Regions from separate parts of the Homo sapiens genome. Here all the other regions are linked to region 1. Evidence: promoter capture Hi-C in 16 types of primary human blood cells and fetal thymus (Javierre and others, 2016). All regions are on one chromosome and are shown on one strand. The core of a region is centred on a gene start or on the middle of the fragment in contact, and the rest is flanking DNA. Distances in the headings are between cores, read along the strand shown. Region 1 holds the start of PCNX4-DT (PCNX4 divergent transcript). Region 2 has its middle 4.4 kb from the start of LINC02322. Region 3 overlaps PPM1A (protein phosphatase, Mg2+/Mn2+ dependent 1A). Region 4 overlaps LRRC9 (leucine rich repeat containing 9).

Evidence for each region. The method cuts DNA at HindIII sites, captures the fragments that hold promoters and counts their contacts. A CHiCAGO score of 5 or more calls a contact.
Region 2: a contact is called between a fragment that was not itself captured here and the fragment with the promoter of PCNX4-DT in region 1, in 7 of 17 cell types (fetal thymus, non-activated CD4 T cells, erythroblasts and 4 more). The highest score is 11.1, in fetal thymus.
Region 3: a contact is called between a fragment that was not itself captured here and the fragment with the promoter of PCNX4-DT in region 1, in 1 of 17 cell types (neutrophils). The highest score is 6.0, in neutrophils.
Region 4: a fragment that was not itself captured here is called in contact with the fragment with the promoter of PCNX4-DT in region 1 in 1 of 17 cell types (total CD8 T cells); the score reaches 6.0 in total CD8 T cells.

The regions. Positions count from the first base shown.
Region 1 is chr14:60,090,444-60,093,071 of GRCh38, forward strand. It overlaps PCNX4-DT (PCNX4 divergent transcript), which reads right to left and starts at 1,303. Exons shown (of 5, transcript XR_943918.4): 1 at 1,260-1,303. PCNX4 (pecanex 4) reads left to right here and starts at 1,480. Exons shown (of 11, transcript NM_001330177.2): 1 at 1,480-1,976. RefSeq lists enhancers at 1,301-1,430, 1,521-1,710, 1,674-2,307. The HindIII fragment of the contact is 2,213 bases long and covers 542-2,628 here.
Region 2 is chr14:60,326,295-60,328,922 of GRCh38, forward strand. No RefSeq gene overlaps it. Among named protein-coding and RNA genes, the nearest start is that of LINC02322, 4.4 kb to the left of the region's middle. RefSeq lists an enhancer at 1,455-1,514 and a silencer at 1,625-1,934. The HindIII fragment of the contact is 1,908 bases long and covers 377-2,284 here.
Region 3 is chr14:60,270,248-60,272,875 of GRCh38, forward strand. The region is part of intron 1 of PPM1A (protein phosphatase, Mg2+/Mn2+ dependent 1A); the gene reads left to right. Among named protein-coding and RNA genes, the nearest start is that of PPM1A, 22 kb to the left of the region's middle. The HindIII fragment of the contact is 5,154 bases long and covers 1-2,628 here.
Region 4 is chr14:59,962,020-59,964,647 of GRCh38, forward strand. All of the region lies in intron 10 of LRRC9 (leucine rich repeat containing 9), which reads left to right. Among named protein-coding and RNA genes, the nearest start is that of LRRC9, 43 kb to the left of the region's middle. The HindIII fragment of the contact is 670 bases long and covers 973-1,642 here.

The DNA.
Region 1 (2,628 bases), core at 53-2,552:
ACTCTCTACATAAAGATAATAGCTCATCCTTACTAAGCACTTAAGCTGTGCCATTTACTCTGCTAAGCAATTTACAATTATTTGATTTAATCCAATGACATAACTCTCTGCGGGTTAAGTTCTATTATTTGCCTTATTTTACAAGATATGGGGAAACTGAGCACTAGAGAAATTACATAACCTCAAGATCTCACAAGTAGTAAGCAGTAGTGCCAGGGTTTCAACCCAGACTTCCTGACTCTGGAGCCTCCACTCTTAATTACATGAAACTCAGACTTCTTGGCGGTAAGTGATGCTTCCGAGATGCTTAATGTGGTACTCTGACCCGCAATGAGTGAGCTTCAATGAGAAAAACTATGGATGGACCAACAGCACGTTTTCCCATATTCTATCAAATCGTGAAGATACCAAACTATGAAAGGGTCTACCTGCAAATTAAGTCCTTGAAGACAAGTATATGTATATCCGGGGTTTTCTTCCACATGCTTTCAACACACTACACTTTTGCTCTGGACACAATATCTTAAAAATAAATAAATAAAGCTTTGGCTTTTAATATGAACACAGTAATTATTTTTCTATTACGACCTGAAAACCTAAATACTTAAATACAAAGTCAGCATTTCCAAGACAGCCAAGAGCCAAGAATTAAAAAAAAAAAAAAATTAAGGCCGCATTTATAGTTTTGAGGAATGGAGATCCAAACAAAACAGTCCACAAGTCATCTTGGACGCTGAAGTGTGCAGAACTGCTAGGGCATCTACCCAATCACATGGGGGAATTGCGGGTACCTTGATACCGACAAGTTAGCTTCAAAGTTCCCTTACCCGAGCCTCTAAATCAGCTGAGACCAATCATTGTTAACGCTCTCCGGGGCCGTCTTGAGGACTCCCAGTTGGCAATCTGGAACGTGTCCAGAACTTGGTGGGGCGGGGGGGGGATCATATTTCGTGGAGAATGGGGGAGGTGAGCCCTGGGTATAGGGATAACTTTTTAACTAGCGTTAATTGGGGTCTTTGCGGCCAGGCTGTAAAGATTCCCGCCACACTAATATGAATCAGCCATGGCCTTTTAATTGGAACGCCGGAACTCTGCCTTGTTTTATTAATATCTTAATAACACGTTTCTATAATGGACATGTTGGTTCCTTGTATTTTAAAACGCAGCCACAAACTGAGGCGATAGCGATCACGTTATGCAGTCCCCAATCGTCCAAGCCGAATAGGCTGCATGAAGTATCACTCAAAAACATTCATTACCGTCGGTGTGTTGAGTGGTAACGCCAGTGTGCGAATTCATTAATGGAAATCACGGGACCCCGAGCGGTTGGAGATCTGCCACACCCCTCTGCCTGCGTTAAGACAGCCTGACCCGACCTCTGGTAAATTAATGCGCAAAATGGCGGTTGCACGTCTGTTTCCCCACCCCGGCGCACAATCCTGAGGAAGGACGTCACGTCACCAGGGCAACGACGCTCTTGCGTAAAGGCCCGGCCCAAGGGAACGTTCAGGGCGTCTCGGCTTTCCCCGCTGCTGCTTCTGCTAGGCCCAGTGCGAGACCAGAGCACGAGCGACTCCCGTCGTCCCCGGCCAGGCAGATGTTGGCCTAGTCCTGGCGCGAACGAAGCGCGCTATTTCCCTGCTTCCTCTAGGCCAAGCCTGCTTTACGGCAGGGCCCGCCTCGGGAGCGAGCACAGACCGGGGCAGCGAGGCCAGCCAGGCGCCGACGAGGTCCCCGAACGCGCACGCGCTCCGTTCAGCTCCGGGTGGCGGCCGCCGGAGTAGACGTTAGCCATGGAAACCGAGAGCTGGCCCGGGCGGGGCCGCGGTGAGCTCGTTATTCGGCCGCCGCAGCTTTTCTGCCTCCGCATTCGGGCACTAACCAACCTCCCGGCGGGAGCGCCCAGCCCGAGTTTACCTGCAAAAATGCGGTCCCTGGGATGCCTTCGCGTCTTCTCTTCCCTCGGGTGACTTGAGGTACGTTCGTTGTCCGACGTCCACCTCGGGACTTCTTCGGCATCTTAATGTCCAAGCCTGTGCGGAGAGCCAAGTTGTTCTAGGGGCTTTCATTGCCACAAGAAACATATTTTTCGTTTTTCGTTGCAAAACCTTTAAGTGCAATTATTGCGCTTAATGAACTCAGTCATTAGAGATAGTAATTCAGTGTGATTTTAACTTTCCTTTGAAAGACTACTTTAGCCTGTTGAATTGTAGCATTTTGTTTCTAAGAGACTCGTACGAAATGGAATATGGCACACCCACCCGGAGCTGTGTCCGTTAGGTAGAACTGTACTCTCGCAATATCTCCAACTAAACCTCTTTTGTCCGAATTGTTCAACTCATGGCCCCCTGAACGTGAAGCGCTCCTTCCCCACTGATCTCGACCTCTGTCCCCACAACCTCTTGTCTCTCCAGGACCAGAATTTACTCCAGTGAATCGGAAGTTGTTTTCCATGCCGCTGAATTGGTTATCTGCTCTGTATCCATCATTTTTCACTTACTCATTTTTTACTATTTTTAGGTGTTTGTTTTCTTCATTAAATCATTCCTGCAGTTAGGGCAAAGACTGCCCTTCATGTTATTTGGTATCCACCGCCACTCACGCCAAATCCCCAGACCTTTAGCATAG
Region 2 (2,628 bases), core at 81-2,580, 240 kb after region 1:
ACAATGTGAAGATTCATTCTGAATTTAAAAAATAACCTTTACAAATATCTTCTGAACCTTTGCCAAGGTCCCCACATCCCTCTTTTATTGTGAGGTCCAGAACTAGACACAGTCCTCCAGTACAGCCCTCAACATCACTGAACAGCAGCACAAGGGATGTTTGTATTCTTCTGAATGAAAGGTACTGTTATAAAGAAAGTCAGAACATTCGAAGGGGGTGGGGGCGGCTTTGATGGCCAAGCAAAAGATTTCCTCATGCCTACACTCAGTCTGGGAGTGAATGAGCCAGTTACATAAGGAGAAAATCCTCCTTCCTAGTGTTGAGCTTTCCTAATTGGAGGACTAAATGTGTCATTATTTAACTAAATAATTAATAAGCTTTCTTGTAATTCATGGATGACTAAACAGATAAACTCACCTGTACCAAACTTTCAGAGAGAGTTCCACTGATTTAATAAATTTGGTTCATGTCATCAGCATAAAAGTCATCTGAACCTTGAGCCTCAAAGACCAGTGACCTCCAAACTTGACAACTCAACTTATAAGAATCAACTCGGCTGCTTACTAAACATATATAGATGTCTGAGCAAAGGTATTTGTGGTTTTTAAAAAACTACATCAATTCTTCTCAAACTTTAATGGGGGTGGTGATGTGGTGAGGGCAGGTCTTGTAAAAAATTTAGACTCCCATCAACAGGTCTGAGTAGGGCCTGAGATTCTGCATTCCTAACGATCTCAAAAGTGATACCGTGCCGCTACTTCATGGACCACACTTTTAGTGGCAAGGCCCTAGACAATTTTGATAATCAGCCAGTTTGGGAACCAGAACTTGAGGCATCATAAATGTTACCTGAAATATGAAAAAGCTAATCTCCGCCTCAATGTTTATCAGCAGCTCAGGGTGCATCAGTGAGTGTTACACAGACGGATACAAAATGTGGGTGGGCAAATTTAATTTCAAACGGTGGAAGAAACCTTATTGAGAATGTTTAATTATGTTCATGCTCCGCTAATACGAGAATAGAGTGGACTCTTAAGTTCCTTTATTTCTCTAGTGATCTATTCTTTAGAGTTCACCAGCAAACACAAAGGCGGGAGGAACCGTTACTTTAAATTCATATTATTTTAGCTGATGTATCTGGAGCACAGTGATAAATTAATCATGACGTCTGGTCTGATTCACAATCATGTTCTAGCCTAATTTACACTTTGCATTTGCAGAACTGAAATGCGATGCATTAAAATGGTCACACACCACGGATTTTTCTCCTCGCTGCACCCATGGAGGGAGGCGCTGTCTCCGCCTTTTCCTGTAAGCACCTGCCCGGGGCCCAAGCCCACAGTGGATGGCTCGTCCAGCTCAGAGAGCGCCCAGGACGCAGTGAGGAAGCAGAATTGGGCGCTCAAGACTCAGACCCGGACTGATGAGCTAAGACTGCTTGCAAGAGGGAGTGGGAGTCGTTAAAAAAATATCCTCGTGGCTTAATGACCAAGGCGGGTTTATTCTCAAGGAAGGGGGAGCGGCGTGGTGGTGTTACTAAACATAACAGATGGCAGCTGTCTGCGGCTATATAGGGCGCGCTGACAAATCCCTCTGGATGGCCACGCGGCGCTGGGCTGCGGGGCCTGGGTGCACTTCGCGCCTGGCTCGGAGGGCGCCGCCTGCGGGAGGACCTCCGGGAGCCGAGCTGCCTCCCCGCAAACCCGGCCCGGGCCCACGCGGGCTCAGGGCGCCAGGCGGGGTGCGCCGAGGTGCAGCTCCCCGGCCCTAGGCTTCGCTGGGGTGGGGGTCGAGGCCTCTCCGCGGGTGGCTCCCTCCACCCTGCCGCCCCGCCTCGCGGCTGGGAGTTGCCCGGGAGCTGTGAATTCACTAGACCAGCATTCACCCAGGGCCTGCGGGGGCTGTGAAAGGATGGGAGGACTCGGCTCCCCAACCCACCTTTACAAAGCCGAAGTGTGGCTGGTGAGGTACCCGACACGCACACACTGCACCGTGATACTGAACCATGCCTGAGTGTGCATTTTGTGCGAAATGGGTCTTAGCCATGATTTCCATGTGGTGAACATCTTTTCCAAACCCCGGATTGAAACACGATTATCAGGTCAATAACATTTTTTCTATGATTTGGAGATTGATTCAGATGGGCAAAATCTTACAAAGTTAATAATCTTATAAAAATCTTACATAATAATCTTAAGTCGCTTTTAGAGAGACATTTAAAAAATATGTCTATTGAAAATAATAAAATTCAGTGAAATTGGACAGGACTGTGGCAGTTGGGGAAGCTTCCTGGAAGATCGGGCAGAAAGAGAGCTTGCCAGTTTGGGCTTGGGATGGGCAAAAACAGAGGGGATTGAGAGTTCTGGGGACTCAATAACGTACATCACTGTGATTTTCAAGCGGCAAATTTCTTTAGAAAGGTAAGGCCAGACAGACTAATGGGAACTGTCCAAGGAGAGGGAACAGAGGAACCCTCTGCACTTTTGGGGCTATGGTCTCTGAAATCGGCTGCAAGGACCACCACCTAGGGGTCGTGTGGTGCATGTCATGTGCTTGGCTTTCTGCAGCAGTGTTGGAGAGTTCCATGGGAAAAGCCTCCTCTCCCCACCCCTCATCATCTCCTCGAC
Region 3 (2,628 bases), core at 77-2,576, 180 kb after region 1:
CTCTGAAATATCTTTTTTTAAAAGCTCTGTTGATACTTTTTATATTCTGGTTTCTTTTCATCCCTGTTTCACAAATTAGGTTTTTTAAAATTTTCTTATATGTAAGTTGTCACCTAGTTTTCTAAGGTAAATCTTTTAGACTGTGACATCATGTTCTTGAGTACTTTTTTAGTTACTTTTTTATTTCAGAATTTTTGTATGGGTTCTATAAATTTTTTTCTGCTTTTTTACTTAAAGGGTGGCAGTTTTCTCTGTTGTTTGCCCAAAAATAACTAGCTACTCCTTGCCTGTTCTGTCATTATACTAGGATACCATTACCTCTTTCCCCCTTGGAATTTAACAGGCTGAATTATATTAAATTATTTTAGTTATCATATTTCATTATTTTTGAGAGAAATGATAGGGATTTTGTCCTATTAACCTGTTACAGGTAAGAAACTTTGTCTTTCTTGATTTTTCTCGATGCTTGTTGAAATTACTGATTATTTTAGTTATCATATTTCATTATTTTTGAGAGAAATGATAGGGATTTTGTCCTATTAACCTGTTACAGGTAAGAAACTTTGTCTTTCTTGATTTGTCTCTTGATGCTTGTTGAAATTACTGCACATTTTCATCTTTACAAGTTTGGCAGATTTTCTTTCCCAACAGAAGAACTTGACTATTGGGCATTCTGCTAATTTCCATGGCTGCTATAACAAATTATCACGAACTTGGTGGCTTAAAACAATACAGATTTATTCTCACAGTTCTGGAGGCCACAAGTTCAATATCATTTTCACGGGGACAAAATCACGGTGTCACCAAGAATGTGCTCACTCCCGAGGCTTTAAGGAGGAATCTGTTTCTTGCTTTTTTTCACCTTCCAGTGGCTGTCAGCCTCATCACTTGCCTGGTAGCCACATCACTCGAATCTTTAAGACCAGCGTCTTCAAATCTGTGTCTGCTCTGTCTTCACATCACCTTCTCTGTGTGTGTCAGATCTTCCCCTGACTCTCTATTCTAAGGACATGTGGGTTCACTTAGAGGTCTCTGGATAATCCAGGATCCTCTCTCCATCTCAAGATTCTTAATCACATCTGCAAAGACCTTTTTTTCCAAATAAGGTAACATTTATAGGATTAGGACTGGTATCTTTGGGAGTCATTATTCAGCCTACTAGGTATCATTTTGTTTTGCTACTTTAGAGTGAGGCAGACATATTAGTCAAAAATTGGATTAGAGTAAAGCCTCATAGATTGTGCTGTTTGTTAGAATCACAGATACTGTCCTCTTTACCGAATGATGCAAACTCTGATGCCATGGTGGAAAAGTATATGAATTGAATTGGATGTGGTCAATAAGGATTGCTAGGGACTCGAGAATGCATGTTGTTCTAGGGAGAGGAAATACGTGAAGGTCAAATTCAGGTTATCAGGTTATCAGTTTGTAACCTAGTTTGTAGCTGCTTTTTTCTTTTCATTTCTTACAAGCTGGTCTTGCTGTAGTAAAATAATTTTGTGTGTCTCTTATAATCTTGATATTGAGAATAAGAGGTTTTTTTTTTAATGGGAATTCCATCCACATGATTTTAAAGTATTACTTTACTAATGATATTTACCTAGGTATTCCTAGAACTTTAGTCTTCTCATGTAACATTTTATACATTTCTCAGAACAAGGTAATTGACAAATAATCAAGGTTGCTTATTTATTGATGAGGAAAGTTAGACATTAAGCCAAAGGACTTGTCCAGTATCGCATATTGGATAGACCTATAATTTTTAACTTTAATCTTGTGGTGACAGGTATTTCCATTTTTTTTTTTTTTTGATGTTTCATATGTGCTTTGATGTTGATGTGTCATGTGACATGAAGTGTCTCCCTATTGTTGGATAATTGGGCAAGTCTAAGTTCTTTTTACTTTATATTCCTGATTTTGTTTTTCTAGATGTGTTATTTTTACAGATTCAGGTTACTTCTTTTTTTAAATCATGTTATTAGAGTTAAACTAATGAAAAATCATATAGAGATGAACTTGGTTTTGAAATATAATGAGTAGATACTTGCTTGGCTGGAATTTTTTCTCACAAGTTTTTTATAAAGATGGTATGAGTGTATACTTTGTATCCAGGAATGTGTGTACACTAGGGGGAGTGTTGGGGGGATGAGGGTGGAAGACATTTTAAGACACACAGGAGGCTGGTGTGGTGGCTCATGCCTGTAATTTCAGCACTTTGAGAGGCCAAGGCAGGGGAATCACTTGAGGTCAGGAGTTTGAGACCAGCGTAGCCAACATGATGAATCCCCATCTCTACTAAAAATAACAAAAAATTAACTGGGCGTGGTGGCACATGCCTGTAATCCCAGGTACTTGGGAGGCTGAGGCACAGAATCACTTGAAGCCGGGAGCCAAGATCATGCCGCCACATCCCAGCCTGGGCGACAGAGTGAGACTCTGTCTCAAAAAAAAAAAAAAAAAAAAAAAAAGACACAGAAGACCCTAAGTGTACACTCAGATGCTCTTTATATCCATATCCATTATCAGTTTGGTGATACGTTATTCTAGTTTCATGAACCTTTACTCTTAGAACTTGGTTTATTCTCTAATATCTTTTGGATTCAGTTTTGCAGTTGAGATGGCTAATAT
Region 4 (2,628 bases), core at 58-2,557, 130 kb before region 1:
TTACACTAACTTTTTAGAAAAAAAAACTGTTATTGTTATGGGTTACTTTAAACCAAGTCCCCTGATTTCTATTAGACATGGCTTTTTTCTCACCTCTGTGAGTAAAAGCTTCTCAAAGGTCTTGGGAGAACTCTGATGGAAAAGTGTAAGAAGCTCTTCGCAAGGGAAAAAGAGGCCTTTGAAAATACTTTCCTTTGTATTAGTACATCCATTTGCCCAGCAGTTACTACTGTTTGCTTAACCACATTTTTTGATTTTTATATACAAAGATATAAAAGGTGTTCATCCAGCTCCCATGTAAACAAGTAAAGGCCTTGATTTTTCAAGTGCAAAAACTGAATGGTGTGTCTCTACTGGGTGCACATTTATATTCACTCAACCTAAACAGGATTTTTTTTTTTTGAGATAGAGTCTCGCTGTGTCCCCGAGACTGGAGTGCAGTGGCCCGATCTCAGCTCGCTGCAACCTCTGCCTCCCAGGTTCAAGCGATTCTCCTGCCTCAGACTCCCGAGTAGCTAAGATTATAGGTGCATGCCACCACACCCACTAATTTTTGTATTTTTAGTGGAGACGGGGTTTTGCCATGTTGGCCAGGCTGGTCTCAAACTCCTGGCCTCAAGTGATCTTCCCACCTCGGCCTCCCAAAGTGCTGAGATCACAGGCATGAGCCACTGTGCCCAGCTCCAAACAGGATTTTTAAAAATTATTTGTTTCTTTTTAAATTATTGCAGAGGAAACTCTTTGCAACAAGTGGATTAGTGAAAAAAAAAAAAATGTAAAAGCAAAATGACCAAAAAGCCATTTAGATAACTATGTCAGCCTGATAGTAAATTAGATAGCTTTGATGGATTTTGATTAGCATTAACCTGTTTACTTGGTTTTAATAAGAGTAACTTTGATTTGTTTTAAGGAATATATCAAATATATGTTAGCAGAATTTAAAGTACTGTTTTTTAGTTTTAGCATACTGCAAGCTTGGCTACTTTTCCTCTGATCTTTTATGTATGTTAAGAAATAACTACTAAGTGCTTTAAATTGCTATGCTACATTTCTAGTTGTTTTATTTAAACACTGACTTCTCCTATTAATATTTTTAAGGCTAAGGATTCAGTATTTAAATAAAAAGTATTTCAGTAGAACTAGGACTGAAAGATTTTCTGTTAAAATTATCTTTATGTCTTTAACAACAACAAAACACTGCATGTTTCTAATTGTATGTCATTATCTCTTAGCTTCATTTCTTTTATGAAATAAAATTATTATATTTTCCAGTTTACAAAAATCTTATTTTATAGAGACATGCTAGTTGAGTGGATTGTTGCTACTATACCTTTATTATTATAGATTTGTATTATTTACCGATGTGTTGCCAATTGAGTTACCCATTGACATCATACAACATTTATCAAGTAGGGACTTCAAAGCATAAAAGATGCTGTCCTTGTGCCTGAGAAGCTGTCAGCCTGGTCATAGATACAGTGTATTTACAACTAAAAAAAAAAAAACACCTTTAAAATACGACAAAACAATATATAAGTGACTCTGTAAGTTCCTTTGGGGAAGATATGATGTTTTGTGTCTTATAAGACATAACATCTAGCATGGGACTGGATTAATAGCCCAGTACATATTTACTAGTTGAAGCTTCCATATCACTTTATAGATACACAACAGTTTTGCTTTGGTGTATATAATGACTTTCAGTAATTAATCTGCCTCTTTATAAAGATTTCATGCTATACTATCTCAAGGAGCTACATAAGCAGAAACTTTCTGTTTTACAGGGCTTTGAAACTGTTGATTTAAGTCAGTAAGCCTGTAAAAGTATTTATTAAACCTTTATATAGGATTATAAAGTATATTTTAATAGATTACATTAAGCTTCAAACATTTAAAAACGTGTGTAGCCTACATTTGCTAAATGAGCACATTATTGTATATTAACAAAATGTGTAGGCATCTTTCTGTGTAACTGAATATATTAGTCATTGATATATATCATTGTGAATGTTTATACCTTCAAGTACCACTGAATGAATGAGGGTAAGGTACACAGTTCAGCTGACTCTAAAGGATTTGAACAGGAGTTATGATTAGTTTAGAGACCATACAGTGGAGAATATTGAATCCTCTACTGTAGGTGAAGAGTCTGAATGTAATTTGGAAGGTAACAAATGGCTGCAAAGGCTTTTGTTTTGTTTTATTGGCAGACTCTTCACCTACAGTAAAGGATCAGTGTTCTCCACTGTATAGTTTTAGACTATCATAACTTCTGTTCAACTCTTTTAAAGTCAGCTGAACTGTGTACCGCACTGCTCTTGAAGCAAACGCAGTACTCCACCACATAAGTGGTTTTGTTTGTTCTGTTTCCTTCACCCAGAATGCTTTTGCATACCTCACACTTACTTCATCATTGCTCAGCTGCTGAATTCCTGGGCAACATAAAATCTCCATGAAAAAATCACACTTCATAGCTCCTGCCTTCCTGGGGAACCAGCCTAGGAGCTAGGTATTGTTTATTCATTCCTTCCACCCATTCATGAGACGCCTCAAGCCCAATATCCCCTATATAGCAAAAACTTTATCTAAAACGCCTACAGCCCTAGTTTCTATCAGAGTGCAGAAAGC